5 separate regions of the Homo sapiens genome follow, and regions 2, 3, 4 and 5 are each linked to region 1. The links are contacts of gene promoters, found by promoter capture Hi-C in human tissues and cell types (Jung and others, 2019). All regions are on one chromosome and are shown on one strand. The core of a region is centred on a gene start or on the middle of the fragment in contact, and the rest is flanking DNA. Distances in the headings are between cores, read along the strand shown.

The links. The method cuts DNA at HindIII sites, captures the fragments that hold promoters and counts their contacts. A contact is called where the count stands out against the background at its distance.
Region 2: a contact is called between a fragment that was not itself captured here and the fragment with the promoter of HAPLN1 in region 1, in 1 of the 25 tissues and cell types used here (lymphoblastoid cells).
Region 3: a contact is called between a fragment that was not itself captured here and the fragment with the promoter of HAPLN1 in region 1, in 1 of the 25 tissues and cell types used here (dorsolateral prefrontal cortex).
Region 4: a fragment that was not itself captured here is called in contact with the fragment with the promoter of HAPLN1 in region 1 in 1 of the 25 tissues and cell types used here (mesenchymal stem cells).
Region 5: a fragment that was not itself captured here is called in contact with the fragment with the promoter of HAPLN1 in region 1 in 1 of the 25 tissues and cell types used here (dorsolateral prefrontal cortex).

The regions. Positions count from the first base shown.
Region 1 is chr5:83,719,416-83,722,494 of GRCh38, reverse strand. It overlaps HAPLN1 (hyaluronan and proteoglycan link protein 1), which reads left to right and starts at 1,640. Exons shown (of 5, transcript NM_001884.4): 1 at 1,640-1,706. RefSeq lists a silencer at 1-55. The HindIII fragment of the contact is 27,926 bases long and covers 1-3,079 here.
Region 2 is chr5:85,094,596-85,097,674 of GRCh38, reverse strand. No RefSeq gene overlaps it. Among named protein-coding and RNA genes, the nearest start is that of EDIL3, 710 kb to the right of the region's middle. The HindIII fragment of the contact is 4,884 bases long and covers 1-3,079 here.
Region 3 is chr5:85,052,086-85,055,164 of GRCh38, reverse strand. No RefSeq gene overlaps it. Among named protein-coding and RNA genes, the nearest start is that of EDIL3, 670 kb to the right of the region's middle. The HindIII fragment of the contact is 3,308 bases long and covers 1-3,067 here.
Region 4 is chr5:85,029,564-85,032,642 of GRCh38, reverse strand. No RefSeq gene overlaps it. Among named protein-coding and RNA genes, the nearest start is that of EDIL3, 650 kb to the right of the region's middle. The HindIII fragment of the contact is 4,337 bases long and covers 1-3,079 here.
Region 5 is chr5:84,815,281-84,818,359 of GRCh38, reverse strand. No RefSeq gene overlaps it. Among named protein-coding and RNA genes, the nearest start is that of EDIL3, 430 kb to the right of the region's middle. The HindIII fragment of the contact is 3,314 bases long and covers 1-3,079 here.

The DNA of each region.
Region 1 (3,079 bases), core at 391-2,890:
GCCGCACCCCGCGCGCTGGCTCATCTGCACACCGGCCACCTGCATTGTCGGCCAGAGCCCCCGTCCCGGCGGCTTCCCCAGCAGCTTGGCTGCCCCTCAGGTCCTCCCATCCCACCTTGCACCTCCAGGACGCCCTGGACCCGCCCATCCTCCTGCCCCACTAGCTCATCGACTTACGACTCCCTCAGTCCCTACGGCCCACGGAACCCTCTCCCCAACCCGCGCCACAGCCCGAGCGGCGGCGGCGGCCTTAAGAAGCCCGCAGTCCCGCCCGCGCCGCCCCGCCGGGGCCGGAGGTTGGAGCCGGGAGCACGGCCGCGAATCCCCGCACGTCCCCAGCGCTCCGCGACACCGGGCCCTGCTCGCTGCAACTCGGGGACGGCCTGCGTCTCGCCTCCACCCTGGCCGCGGGCCCCTCGAGCTTGTTTGCTTGTCCTCAGTCCCAGGGCCAGCCCCGCTCCCTCCTCCCGGCTGCTCCAACAGCCGTTTGCTTCCTGCGGTGTGTTTCTTTTTTCCCCTTCCTAGACTCCATCAAAGGTGGCTCTGTTATTGAAATATGAAGCCATTTCCTCTCCAAAACCCTTGGTTACTCAAGGCGGGAATCAATGGACCTATATACTCTCCCAGAAGTTATAAATAAACGTCTATTTGTTCAGGAGGCGTTTTCCCGCGTGTCCCAGCATCTTCCCCACTGGTTATTTCAGGGGTGTGTGTGTCTGTGTGTGTGTGTGTGTGTGTGTGTGTGTGTGTGTGTGCGCGCGCGCGCCCTGTGCCCATCTGGTTCTAATCCTGGTTATGGATCCACAACCCAACCCCACCCATCCCGTCTCCCCCTCGCATTCCTCGTTCTATAAATAAATCCAGGTTCTTTGAGCTCTGTCATCCAAGGATACAATAGCAGTTGTTTGTTAAGAGAAATTTAAACTCAACACCAATACTGAGTCCAGTAAACCAGAAAATATGCTTCTGGTGATTTGGGTGGAAGGCCATCTCCAGTTTAAGAAGCTTTATGTGCCACTATCATCATTGTCTGTTATCCTTGATCTCCTTTGGTGAGGGGAAGGCGGGAAAGAGAGGACCTCTCCGACCCTTGGATTTTTCTTTTAAGCAGAGGCTAATAAAACAAAGCGCAAACTGACTGTCCTGAGGAGTCTGCTCACACCGCTGCCCCGCAGATCATTCCACAGACCCCTTGTCCCATCCCTTCTGGACAGACCCAGGACTGATGAGGGTTCGGGTTCGGGAGGTGTGGTGTGGTGGGGGCTTGTGTGGCTGTAGCGGCCGGCTTTCCTAAACCCCAGAGCGGGATACTCGGGATCTGAGCAGAGGGGAAAGTCATCTAAGAGGCTGCTGCTTTACAAGGTCTGGGCACAGAGCTGCCCCTCCCTTCCTCCCTGAAGTTTGCATGAAGTGCACATTAGGCTGTAATTAGGGGATTTGGGAGGAGAACTTTCCTGGTGACGCTTTGCTTTTCTTCTGCTCTTGGTGAGAAAGTGCCTCCTTCTTCCCAGGATCAGGACCTCTGCCATCCAGCGCCACAAAGAGACATTCTGCACACACACTCACACACGCACACACACACACACTCTCACACTCGCCCAGAGACAAACTTAAGGTGAGGAGAAAGAGCGCTAGCTTCACTTGATCTCCAGCTTCCAACTTAAGCAGAACTTGAGAGCATCCGAACTCCTGGATTTCAGGACAAGGTAAAACTTGCAAATTGTTTCCCCCTCTTTTGGTTATACCTTTGTGCCTTTAAGATTTCAGAGGGCAATACACATGCAATGTATATATACATTAAACAAATTTTATTCTTTTCTTTTGAGTTTAGTTTTCATTTGAATTTAATATGACACCTCAACTTTTAAAAAAGTTTCATATTGTCGGATAAAATATTTCACTACAATAAACAGGCTCAGTCTAAAAATGGAGAAAGAATTAACTCTAGTATCTTAGCTTCTGCTAGTGCTCCTGTAAATCTGGTAGGGTCATGGTTTCCAAGTGGTGACTTTTCTATCTGTATCTCAACAACCATTTTTATAGCACCTGAGATGAAACAAGGATAGTATAGGCTGAAGGGAAAGGTGAGGAATGGGAATGTCCAGCCAGGCTTATGAATTTTGTTTCAGAGAATATATAGGGTTATGTGAAAAAGAAAGTTACTTTAGGCATAGGTAATACCTGTTAGATTAATAATCTTAGAAATGTTGCCATTTTTGGCCCAGGCTTCCTTCTCCAGCTAATTATGAACTTAAGATCATAGAATGATGATGCATTTCATATATACAATGATGTTGATGGATAATTTGAATGCACTGAAGAGAATTTATAGTCATAGTTAAGATTACTGTTAAAAGTTGCTTAAAGAAATTATTTGTATGTTGAGACTGTTCCCCACCAAAAACAAACCTAAACTTGTTTGGGCTTCGATTAAGTAGTTTTCTTCCATTGAATGTGACTGTTGTGTTCAAAATAAGATGGCTTATTAATTTGAGAATAAGTTGCTTTATTTTCATTTATCACTGGAAAAATACACACAGTGGCCAGTACATTTGGGAATTTTTAGGGTGGAAAGTGTTCCTGTACATGTTCCAGTGTGATGTCATAAAATCAAACATACTGGCTGGCTTCTTGGAAGCTAATAGTTCTTAAGAAATTAAGGCTGTGGATTGATTTCTAAATGAATGTAATATTTATTCATTACAATTGTAGTTTCTGGTAACTATTTCTATGTGATTATTTCTGTGTACTAAATTTGCAGAGATTTTATACACATTTCAGTCATTTCAGTATTTTAATGGAATGGGAATATTGTTCTATCAAAAGTATATCATAGTAGTTATCTTTGGAGAATTTTTAATGTGATATGATTCATAATTCTTATATCAGTTAACAAATTCCATTTACCTACAAAAATGAAAGTTTCTCTTCCATTCAGTAAAATATAATGTATACCAAAGGACTCTTCAGATATTAGCTTTAGTCTTTAGTCACTTTTATACCACCCATTTTAAAAAATTTAATTGTTTCAGCTAAGAAATGAATTTATACTTTTGTTGATGACCTCTTCCACTAAATT
Region 2 (3,079 bases), core at 356-2,855, 1.4 Mb before region 1:
AAGAATTTTTTAATTAGAAGGCTTTGTAATTAACCATTTAGTAAGTTTTAGAAGAGAAAATTTTAAGTTCAGATCAGCCAAATATCACCTCAAGGCCTGCCGTGAAACATACAGGACTCACATAGAAACATTTAGGAATATTCATCGGGAAAATTGGAGCCAAGGTCTAATTGTAAAAGCAGAAGGATGTAAAGAATGCTAGAATTACAGCTTTGTCAGGTTATTTATGTCATACGTAGGACTTGGACATTTTTAAAAGTAGGATGCCAAGAACTGGGATTAGGTGGAGAGTTTGGTGGGCCTCTGTAATTCTCAACACCTACCACTAAGAAAGAGAGCACACTGTAAGACCCATACAGATTGGAGGCACCATATTTCATACCTGGAAATATATTTCTGATATAATATTAGAGTAGTCTGCAGACTTCAAGTTAGGACCTAAGATTATAAGAGGGCTTAGCTGCAATTACAAGCTATAGTGCAAGTTTCTTGACAACTTAGGTCATATTATCCAGCAAACCTGATGGAGCTAAAATAATAAGTGGCAAATAATAATGCTGTATGGAATATCTGGTAGTCTGCATGAAATTCTCTTCCTAGTTTCCCGGAATTCTGATCATCATGCCACACACACACACACACACACACACACACACAAAACATTTTCAGCTTTCAAAAATAATTTATTCTAGAGCCCTTAGAGTGACTGAAGGCCTGAACAAAGAATATAGAACTGCTCATAATGAGTTTCATATTATCAGATTCGTTGAGTCATAAGGCCAGGCGGGCACAGCAGCTAAACACTCCAAAGTGGAAACATACACTCAAGTATAGGCTACGGCAGAGCCAAGTTAATTAGTTAATTAATAAAATTTTTGGCGTTCCCTTGACTCTTTCTTCTATTGTACCACAGCCTCTCCCTCAGCTTATACTTAGGTGTTAAGGGGAGTTCCCTATGAGCAACTGGCAGAGGGGGAAAAACCTCAAGCTTGAATCACAGGCTGCCAGTGTAATATGTTGGTATTAGCTATAAACTTGTAAGCGATCTTAAATCACTGAGATAAAGGAGAGGAATGGCAGACCTCCAAAGAGTACAATTTAAAGGGAAAAGCAGCCTGAAGAACAGACACATAAATACCTTACCAGCTGTGAATGACTGTTGGTTGGTTAGGCATCTGGAAGGAGCAATCCTGGAAGATCAGAGACAAAGTAGTCTGGGGCAGTTGAATGTGCATAGACCTATGGGAGTAAACCAGGTTGTGCAGATCTTTTGGTGTCGTGTTAATGCCCATCAGAAATTAGCCACAGGAGATACTCAACAACCAAGTAGATTTCACCCAGCCTCTCTTCTCAAGAACTCCAGTCAGGGCAAAATGAGCACTGAACAGATGGCTTTGGAGGAGTGTATGAAAGCTCTTTTGGGTATCCATATTATGGGCCCTCTACTCCTGACCACTTATTCCACGTCTACCACTGCTGAATATCTAACTTTCTCAAAGCAGAAATCAACTCTGTGCTCTTAATGTGTTACTATCAAATATATGACTGTTTATTTCATCAGATCCTTTTCACCCTCTATGGACCACAACACATCCTTACTGGAATTGACATATACTCTGGCAATGTGATTTTTTTTTCTGTCTGCAATGCTTTTACCTTCACCATCATCCAAGGAATTAAGAAAGACATAATATTTTGCACAACATTGCCTCAGAAAAAGGAACGTGTTTTACAGGGCCTGGTTATTGTCCCATTTGTAATATAAGGGAGTTTGTCTTAATAGAACCATGAAATGCCCTAAACACTGGCTCAGAGACATTTCTTTTGCTCTAAAAGTTTTACTTCTGAGTCTAAGACCAAGGAAATAATATCAAATACAAGAAATTATCTTAAAAGTGTTATTTGAAATAGTGGAACTATTTACGTGCATTGAGGCTATAAAGTGACAGATAAGTAATTTGTAATTTTATGATTAAAATGTATTTATGATTATATGTCATCACAGGATTATATGATTAAAACTGAATTAGGCTATGCCTAGAAAAATTTGAAACTGATATTCTGAAATATGAATCATGCTTGTGACTGAGTGGTGTTTTTTTATTTATATTTTGTTATTATCCAAATTGTCTTTAATATGTAAACATTATAATATAAATAAGTACACCAAAAATGAAGAGAGTTAATTACTATGTCACTAGAAAAAGGGAAATAGGCACAATCTGTCCAATTTTTTTGTATAGGTTTGATTTGATTTGCTTGTTCTTTCTTAAGTATTTATAATGTGATGACCATCATAGCACAAGGTCTTCTGTATAAAAAAGGCTTAAGGATACAGAAGGGAGAAAAATCTATCAATGGCACATGGTAAAGAAGTCTCTAAAGTAGAGGTAAATAATATATTTCCTCATGCTAAAAATGAAAATATTTTCCAGAGAAACATCAAAGAACATCAATAGCTATATAACCTGAGGTTAATCGTAGTCTTGATTTTATCATGACTTCAGGAAATTATTAATAAATAAGGCTTTTCAGAGACTAGATATACAGAGAGGTTTATTGGCCTCATGAAGAAATATAAAGAAACAGCATGTAGTTTTCTGTCACATTCCATGTAGTTAAGTTTGTATAATCCTAAAAGGGAAGAAAAAAACAGGCTCTATTCTCTCAATATTTTGAAAAAAAAAATTAAAGAAATATGCAAGCAGCTTAACCAAAAATTATTAGTTATTTGAGCCCTACTTACTGTGAGTGAAATAGATCTGTGCTAATAAGTGTTCCTTCATGAGGGGTCTGCCCTTCCTTCCTGGAATAAATATGAAAAGCTTTGTAATATATTTCTTCAAGCATCTATTTTTATAAAGAATTCTGCTATGCTACTACCAATAATGAATTGCCCTCTAGGTTAGATAAGAATCCTTGAACTTTCCAAATTCCAATTGTTCTGGTTAGTTTGATAGTTTTGAGAGGTGAAGAGAATAGGGGATTAGTAGCTAAAGACATGAGAGAAATTATAATGCTAATAAATCCACAAAACAGCAGGTCTAAAAAAGGAGGCTCAAGTTCATACAGCAAGATA
Region 3 (3,079 bases), core at 164-2,663, 1.3 Mb before region 1:
TTACCTCTTTTGAATTCTGGTGCTATTTCAATATTTTCAAAATAAAATTTTCAATAACACAAAATCAATTTTACATTTTAAAAACTTGAAAATATTGCTGTGCTAGAGTAAAATGAATATGTAAAGTGAAAGAAAGAATATTCTTTTCTGGAAAGAAACCAAGTACAATATCAGCATTGTCCCAGTGGTACTTATAAACAGAAATAGAATATGTTTTTGAGTGGCATCCTTAGCCAGGGGAACACTTCATGATCAAGTAAGAAAAAGCAAGCATTAGATTTATTTTTAAAATATAAGCTCTGTAAATATAATTCTCTTATCTGCTGGAAGGAAAAGAAAATTGTTGTATTGTCAGATCTCAAAACTGGGCTTTCTGAATATATATTCCCTTCCATTTCTTACCCCACATAAATTATACTAACATTTTATAATCACTTTCATTTTATAAGACACTAGTTTGATTAACATGCTCTGGCCACAGCTGCAAATACTGGAAGCTTCATAGCGCTATTAGAATAACATACCAGGGTTCCTGAGTTATATACTTGAGATAATTAAATCTAACAGTATATGAGCTTGATGGTCATTGAAATATATGAACTAAAGCTGTCCAGTGTTGAATTGCAGTATCCAATTTCAATAGGACATTTTATTTCTTTATTTTTTCAGCCAGCATTGTTCAGCATGTTTAAAAAACTTAATAGTAAATCTCTACTACAGATTTGCATTTAATTTTATACACACATTCATTGTACTTGAAAAAAAAAACATCAAGCAAAGTAGCAATACATTTTTCTTGTTTCCGGAATTTGGGAAACTTGCAAGAATTTGATGTAGGTCACATTTTGAGTTGTTCTCTTCAGTGTCTTATGCAGTTTGTATCATTAAATGCAAATAACATCTCTTGTGTCACGTCAATAACCATAAGTATTAATTAACTTTAGTCAGGTGACTTATAGAAAATAAGGTATGGCAGAGCAGCCTAATAATATTATTATAGAATTCTATCACAGGATTTTCAGCTTTTGCCTTGGGGTATAAAGATATGGAAGGAGTATCACCCCTACCCTTAAAATGAAATATGATTTTCTTAAAACTTATTGGATTGTGGAAGTTTTAGAACAATCAACTAACCAAAAAATTAAGGAAACATAGTACTGACAGGCAGAGTGGGGATGTACAAACTTGTGGCCTTTGGCTAGATTCACCTACACAGAGGTAAGAACGGCTCAGTTGAATAATTGATAAATTGCCCAAGACCAAGTGTGAGCCAGAAGAACATTTTGAAATTTTAGTGAGTCTCAAACTATGGGAGTCCATATCATCTTCCAGGTTCTTCCTGCACACTCACAGAAAAGATAGAACCTTAAGAAATACGCATTGTGATGCAAGCCTAAGAAAGAAGAATAGAAAAGTTTTATAGAAGAGGTAACAAAATCTGCCAGATTCTTCTTTCCTATCTATACTACTGAACAAAAGCCTTAAACTGTGGATGAAATGCTGTAAATACTGTACCCCCTAGGCCATTTGTGAAAACTCATGCAGCCGAGGAAAGGAAAATAAATAAAGCTTATTCCTGGAGTGGGATGAAATTATGCGTTGAGCTGAAAAGTGTAGCTGGAGAACAAAACGGCCACATTTCTGAAACCCAGAGACACATGCATACCTTAGATTTGGGCTTGATAATAACACCAAAGAAAGCACCACACTCCACCCTCAACTGCCAAGATAACATGATTTGGATAACCAGTAAAAGGAGAAAACTGCTGGTAGGGAGCAGACGGAACAAGAACAATCAAAAAGACCCACTTTGTGGCACAGTGCAGAGTAGATCTAAAACTTAAAAACAGTCATCATTCTAATAAACTAAGCTCCACCCTAAACAAAAGATAGTCCTACAGGAATTTGAAGGCTGTGGTCCATTGAGGCTAATTATAGCAACAACAAATCTACAATCCGGAATCTACAACCCAGACTAATTCCTAATTAGATGAACTCAAACATCTCCCTGCACTAAATGCCTAACAAAGGCATGTTTATTTCCAAAAATAAAAACTGTTTACCTCAATTTCCACTGTTCATACAAAATGACTAAATTTTAACATAAAAAATTACAAGATGTAAGAAGTCATGAAAAAGCACAGTCGTAAGAGACAAAGCAATCAAAACAAGAAACAAATAGGACACAGATGTTGGAATTGTCAGGGAATTCAGAATAACTATTATTAGTATGAAAAACATGCTAAAATTAGAGAACATGCCAGATCAGCTTTGTTGTGACTCCTCTCTTTCTGTGGTTGTAGAGCTTAGCTCCTTCTTGGAGTGAGGGACGTGCCTCCACAGCGCTCTTTCCCTCATCTATTTTTGGGAATCTACACAAGACTGTTACCTCTATTGAAAAGTAGGGATATGACTATTTAAAAACTGAAAATGACAGAGTTATTCTAGAATATTTAAACACTAAAAAGATGAAAAATAATGATCAAACCAAAGTTTATTTGGTGAATCCTCAGTAAGCATGAAACAATTTTCTATGAGAAACTTCAGTTCAGAGGATTGAGACACAAATTGTCATTACAGTCTTTTTTGAGGAGTGTGGGGGACTTATTAAATATATTCTGTAGTGTAAAGTGACTTTTAAGATAAAACATAGAGTAAAAATGAATATTATTTTGAAACCGCAAGGAATTATCACACGGAAATGAAGGGATAAATAAAACAGCAACAGAAATGAAGATGCTTTTGATGGCTTTATCAGTAGACTTAGCACAGAGAAGAAATGAATATGTAAGCTTAAACATAGGTCTATAGAAATTACCTAAAAATAAGTATAAATAGATAAAAAGTTACAAAAGCAGAGTATCAAAAATTTGGGGAACAATATCGAATCTTGTATCACAAGTGTAATTATACCCCCAAAAAGAAAAGAGAAAAAAAAAAACTAGACAAAGAAATATTTGAAGATACTTTGATATTTTTCCAAAATTAATAATAGGAAAATTTGTAGTTCTACGCAATTCAGAGAATATCATGCAGAATAAAAAATATAAATCAAAACAAAATAATAAGAACAAAAATG
Region 4 (3,079 bases), core at 383-2,882, 1.3 Mb before region 1:
TCTTCTAGGTATTTAAAAGATAAGATGTTAAACGATAGAGTACACTAAGAAAGTGGGAGATTAATGCTTTCTGCTTGAATGCTTATTTGGCTAGAACAGATATTCAAATTAAATCGAGGTAAGGCCATTGCTGTCAAATTTTGGTCTAGATTGTTTAACACTGGGTGTTACTAGGTTTTAAGTAAAGTATTTTAGAATAATTGATTTTTTTATCTATTACAAGATTCTAATGAGCAGAGTAATTTACGACAGTCCAAACAAGTTGACTAAAAAAAGAATTAAATTAGACTAAAAGTAAAGACCGGCGAAATTTATTTGGAGAATGCAGATTCTAAAGCTGATATTGGTTTTGTTTTTGATGTGAGAGTACATAAGTCTTGGTCATAGTTATTAATGTAAAATCAACTTACCTCTTAGGGATATTGAGTGAGTAAAATCAAAATCATAAGTGAGTAGCAAAAGGCACATGGGTTCCAATGCCACCAAGATATAACAGATCAACAATCAGAGTTTTTACCACAATCATATGTAATTATTTATCTTTTTAAAGTTTAGAATTCAGAATTCTGATAGTAAAGAAGTTCTAAAAAGAAATATCAATTTTTTAAAATATGTAATAGCTGCTGTATTATTTTTATATCATTCTTAAAAAAGATAAAATCACAAGAGCTAGTCAACTTCAATGAAATACCAGAATAAAGAAAATGTTATATACTATCAAAAATGCATGAAGAGTGTCGGAAATGATGGTTTCTTTGCATCTATTCAGCTATATAGGCAAAGATCCTTTAACAGATTCTGAAGAGGTTGATTTAACTCTCAAAACTAAATACAGATTGAGCACCTTTAAACTGAAAATCCAAAGTTTGGTATTCTCCAAAATTTGAAACATTTTGAATGTCTACATGACGGCACAGGTAGAAAATTCTACATCTGATACCTTTGTTTTCTGATGATTCAATGTTCAAAAACCATGTTCATGCATAAAGTAATTAAAATATTGTACAAAATTACCTTCAGGCTATGTATATAAGGTGTACATAAAAACATAAATGAATTTCTTCTTTAGACTTGGCCTTATCCCCATATCTCATTTTGTATATGCAAATATTCTAAAATATAACAAAATCCAAAATGCTTCTAGTCCCCAACATTTCAGATAAATGATACTCAACCTGTATAATTTGTATTCACTTTTGAAATGGGCTTTCACTTTAATTTTGAAAATGACTAAGACATTCAGGAAAACATGACTTTTGCAATTTGTCGACTGAACTGTGGAGTGATTATCTTATTGCTCACTCCCCCCACAGCAACCACTCTTCTCCTTGTCCGTGTAGAGCAACTACAAAATCTGGTTAGTATGTGATGTATTCTGAGTGGAGATAACATATTGTAGTGTTTTGACCTTTTCAATATTCTACACTTCAATTGGCTGTCCATTCTATATCCTCCCTACAGGTTAGTGGGACAGAAAGCAAGGGAAAAATGCAATGAGTAGCCAATCAAATCATAGAACATTGAAAAGGTCAAAGCTGTATATTAGAAGACTGTAATCGACAGAATGTATGAGACATTAAAATTCTACCACCTCATTCTTATGGCAAAGACTATAATGAAACAGAAAATGGCACTATATAAATCTGTTCATATGACAATCATTGTTCTGAGAACTGAGAACATAACACATTCCAATTATAATTTTAAAAATTGCATTATTTTGGCATCCCACAGATTTTGTAGTGTAGTTAAATTACACATAGTCAGCAGAACTAGTTATCTAACAGTATATATTCAGTCTAACACAGAATGACATATTAATATTACATTAAATGGCTCTACATTTATAAAAATCTAAAGAGACATCCCTAAAATAAAGAACTAAAGAATACTTTTTCTCTTATACAGGACTCACTAAACTTACTTGAAGAGCTTATGGAAATTGTTTTTTGTTTTAAAAGAGAGAAGTAATATGAGAGAGTTTTTTCCATTTAGACAAAAGCAATCTTAATTGATGATTTTTTTTAAAAGACTCAGAGGTCCCTGAAATAAAGCTATACAGCCTGAAGCAGGAAATACATTTGGCATCTGGTTGCTAGATGATAATTAAGAAAGACAGGTTCAGTCAGAGCACTGACCCAGAAGCCACAATTTAAGTGTCAATGAATAGAGTCAATATTCCCTTGACCACTCACATCTAGAGGAGATCATCTGAAAAAGAAAGAGAGTGGGGGTAAAACAGACTTACAGGATTTCAACAAATGATTTTGTAATGAATCTTGGCATAATTCAGAGGGAATAAATAAAAAGCTTACAATGAATTGTTACAGAACATGACATTTTAATACCCATATTTGCTGTCAAATTTTAAAAAGTGATCATGCTTATGATAAATACACAGCCATTAATATTAATAACAGCTGGTGTATAAATGCCTATGGAAAGGGATCAATGTGTTTATAATTTGTTTTTGGCTGTTATTTTATTTACAATTTTAATAAGTTTGATAGAGTTTTTGGAAGAAAAATAAAAAGCTAAATATGTACATTTTAAATTTCCTACCAATACCTTTTTATTTTAACTCTATAGATGAATGAAGAAGTCGAAAAATTATTTCCTTTTTTTAGGAAAATAGAACAGTTGTTTCCAAGCTTTTAGTGTCTTAACCAGAATGATATCAAGAATTTGTATTAAAAGTCTTTCAGCTCAACTTTAAGTAGGAAATGCACATGTGAATTAAAAAAAAACTTAGGCACCAGCATTTCTCTCCATGAGCAAACAGGTATAAATTTCTATCAGATTTTTCAGACATTGAATATGCCTAATTTTAAACTATGAAATGAGACTTATTTTCTAATAATACCAACTGTATTTTTAAAAAAATTTTTGGCAATCACAAAGTGGGTCTGCAATGAAATTCACTTAGCTTTTGGGGTACTGTTTCCACTGATTTCAGAGTTCTGGGAAACTCAGTCAATTTTTATTTATCTTATGATTGCTAAGCATTGTTTAAGACTGCACCCATTCCCTATTGCATTTACAGCCGTCTAAGCACAAACATAGCAGTGGTAGTTACAAA
Region 5 (3,079 bases), core at 234-2,733, 1.1 Mb before region 1:
GCGAATGCCTGTAATCCCAGCTACTCAGGAGGCTGAGGCATGAGAATCGTTTGAACTCAAGAGATGGGGGTTGCAGTCAGCCAAGATCCCTCCACTGCACTCCAGCCTGGGTGACAGAGTGAGACTGTCAAAAAATGAAAGGAGAGAAGGGGAGGGAAGGGGGAGGGGAGGGGAGGGGAAGCAAAAGATTGAAGCTTTAAAACTAATTATAGGCCGGGTGCGGTAAGTCACATCTGTAATCCCAGAATTTTGGGAGGCTGAGGCAGGCGGGATCACTTGAGGTCAAGAGTTTGAGACCTGCCTGGACAGCATGGGGAAACCCAATCTCTACTAAAAATACAAAAATCAGTGGGCGGTGATGGCATGCACCTGTAGTCCCAGCTACTCTGGAGCCTGAGGCCAGAGAATCGCTTGAACCCAGGAGGCAGCGGAGGCTGCAGTGAACTGAGATCACACCACTGCATTCCAGCCTGGGCGACAGACTGGAGAGAGAGATTCCATTTCAAAAATAAATAAACACATACATAAATAAAAATAAAACAAAACAGTTATTAATGTATCTCTCAATCTCAGAAATAACATATTTGCTTATTGTTATATGTTTTTTACATATTTATATATCACATATATATTTATACATCACTACATATTAATATTCAAACATGCTTATTGTGTGTTCATGTTTAGGAAGAACAGAGTTTTATCTGATAACAAATGCCATTTAGTTTGAATAATATTTATATTGTTAACTTGTTAACAAAATTCAAATATCTCACAGTTTAATATTTCCAGAAAAAAAAAAGTGAGGAAATCCCTGGTATATCAACGAGCATAAATCTGAGATGAGGCAATAACTAAATGATTTTGCTTGTTTATATTGCAGCCCAAACCAGATAGCCTTTTATAGACACTATCATACTAAAAGCTCCTGTAAAATCGTTGAAGCTTTGCTTAGGAAGAACTGAGTAGAGGGAGTGTTAAAATCACAGCAGGAGATTCAACTCAGTCCAGTTTATCCTGTTGCTTTAAAAATGGCATTGATCTTATGCAGCAGATGTGGCACTTGGTTATTCTGGGCTTCTGCACTATCAAAAGCTTCTGTGACTTTAATGAAAACTTTATCTTTACACATTGGAAGCTCTAATGTGATTGAGCCTGCCTGTCTTTCTGATGCCTTTACTGTCACCAGAGTTCCTGGCCCTTCCCACTTTTGCGGCTTCTACTCCTACTTTGCATTTTTTTTTTATTTCTTCCTTAAGTCATTCAGAGTCTTCAGTGTTCTCTTTCACTGTGCATTTTAGCTATCGTGCCTACTTTCCCTGGTTCCTCTACTTAAAGATTCCTTAAGCAAAGACTTTTATACCTAGCACTTGAAAGTAAGGAATAAAGCACAGCCAACAATGAGATGTATGATTCACTGTTGCACAATCTCAAGTTAGTATGGTTCCTCTCAGAGACAACTGCAAAGACATATATTTAGGTTTTACTCCTTCTTCCATTATGCATCTTCATTTTCCCTAGCTTTGACCTCCAAGTCCAAGAGCTCATGCTTCTTTCTCAGGAAAGATGTTGCACCTGGGTCATCTTTGAAGCCTTTCCATCTTCCAGAATGAGCTAATCTATGTCATATTTATCCAGGATTCTGCTTTGTAAACAACCAGCTAATGGGGTAAAATAACTTGAACATGTGTGACCAAATAGCTTAATGTGTTAAACTACCCAGCTTACATTTGTACAGGTGACCTCTAAAAAGAGTTTCAGTTCCTAAAAGCAAGTAATCAAATTGCCAACCTGTGTATATTTTCAGAAGATTATGATAAAGTGATGATTTCCCTCACTATTCCCCTTCCCTCTCCATCCTCACCTCTTCCTCTTTCCCTCTAAAGCAACCTGGCAGATTCAAACTCTTCTCTAACTCTCTGCTGAATCTAAATGTCAAACACCCGCAGGCACATCATAAGTGTTATTTTAGCCTTTTGCATTACCTTTGGTAGCACTTATCTCACTCTTTAGCAATTATTTGAGTGCATTTCTGCCTCCACCACCACATGATTTTGAGCTCTAAAAAAGCACAAAAAGTTCTCTCACTAGCACAAGTAAATATTAAAATACTGTTAGTTAAATAAAGGAATGAATAAATGAATGCTCAAGTGAATGAATGAGGATAGAAATTCAGCTGGAGGATAAGAATCTGTTAAAGTGATTATTTATTTTTATCATTTGGTCAAGTTATGTAATCTTTAATGTCAACTTTATCACCTGTAAAATGGATATTAAAGATGATGTGAGAATCAAATGTGATTATGTCTGTAAAAACCCAGTGTAAAGTAAAAAACACAATGCAAATATTATGTTACTACTTCACAGACAGATTCTCCTGGCAGTTATTTAGCTGTTGTTCATATATTATTACTGATTTTGTATTTTTTCCAGATGTCTACCATGACAGATTGCATGTTGGTTCCCCATTAGTGACACCCTCTTCTTTGTAGGACTATACACCTCCATATATTGCCATGTGACAAGCAGTGCCTTCCTTGTCACCCCACACCACTGACAAAAGGTTTGGATGAGTGACTTGCCACAGCCAATGAAATGCGAGCAGAAGTGACAGTGTGCCCTTTTCCAATAGCAGCTTTAAGAGCCATTATATCCTTTTGCTGCCTTCTTGATCTTTCTGCTCTGCATAGGAACAACCTATTCCATTGGGAGCTGCTCCTTTAGCCCAGATCCTGGAATAAGGAAAAAACAAAGAGCAGCCGAGCAACCACCACTGACCCCTGCATTTAACATGAGCAAAAAGTAAACCCTTTTACTCTCAGCCATGTTGACACTATAATTAATCAACCAGACTAATTAATTATAGACTCCTTTGAGAATGAATGGTGTGCTATTCATGATTACACTGAGACAACAGACATGAACAAGGACAGTCCTGGGCAAACAGGAAGAATGTACACCTTAGCTACATAAAATAGTTTGAGTTAAAAGTTCTACAAGGCATATCACAAAACATTTAACTACTACTCCCAATCTTTCCCACTCTCTATATCAATTCCCTGTAAGCTTTTATCTTAAT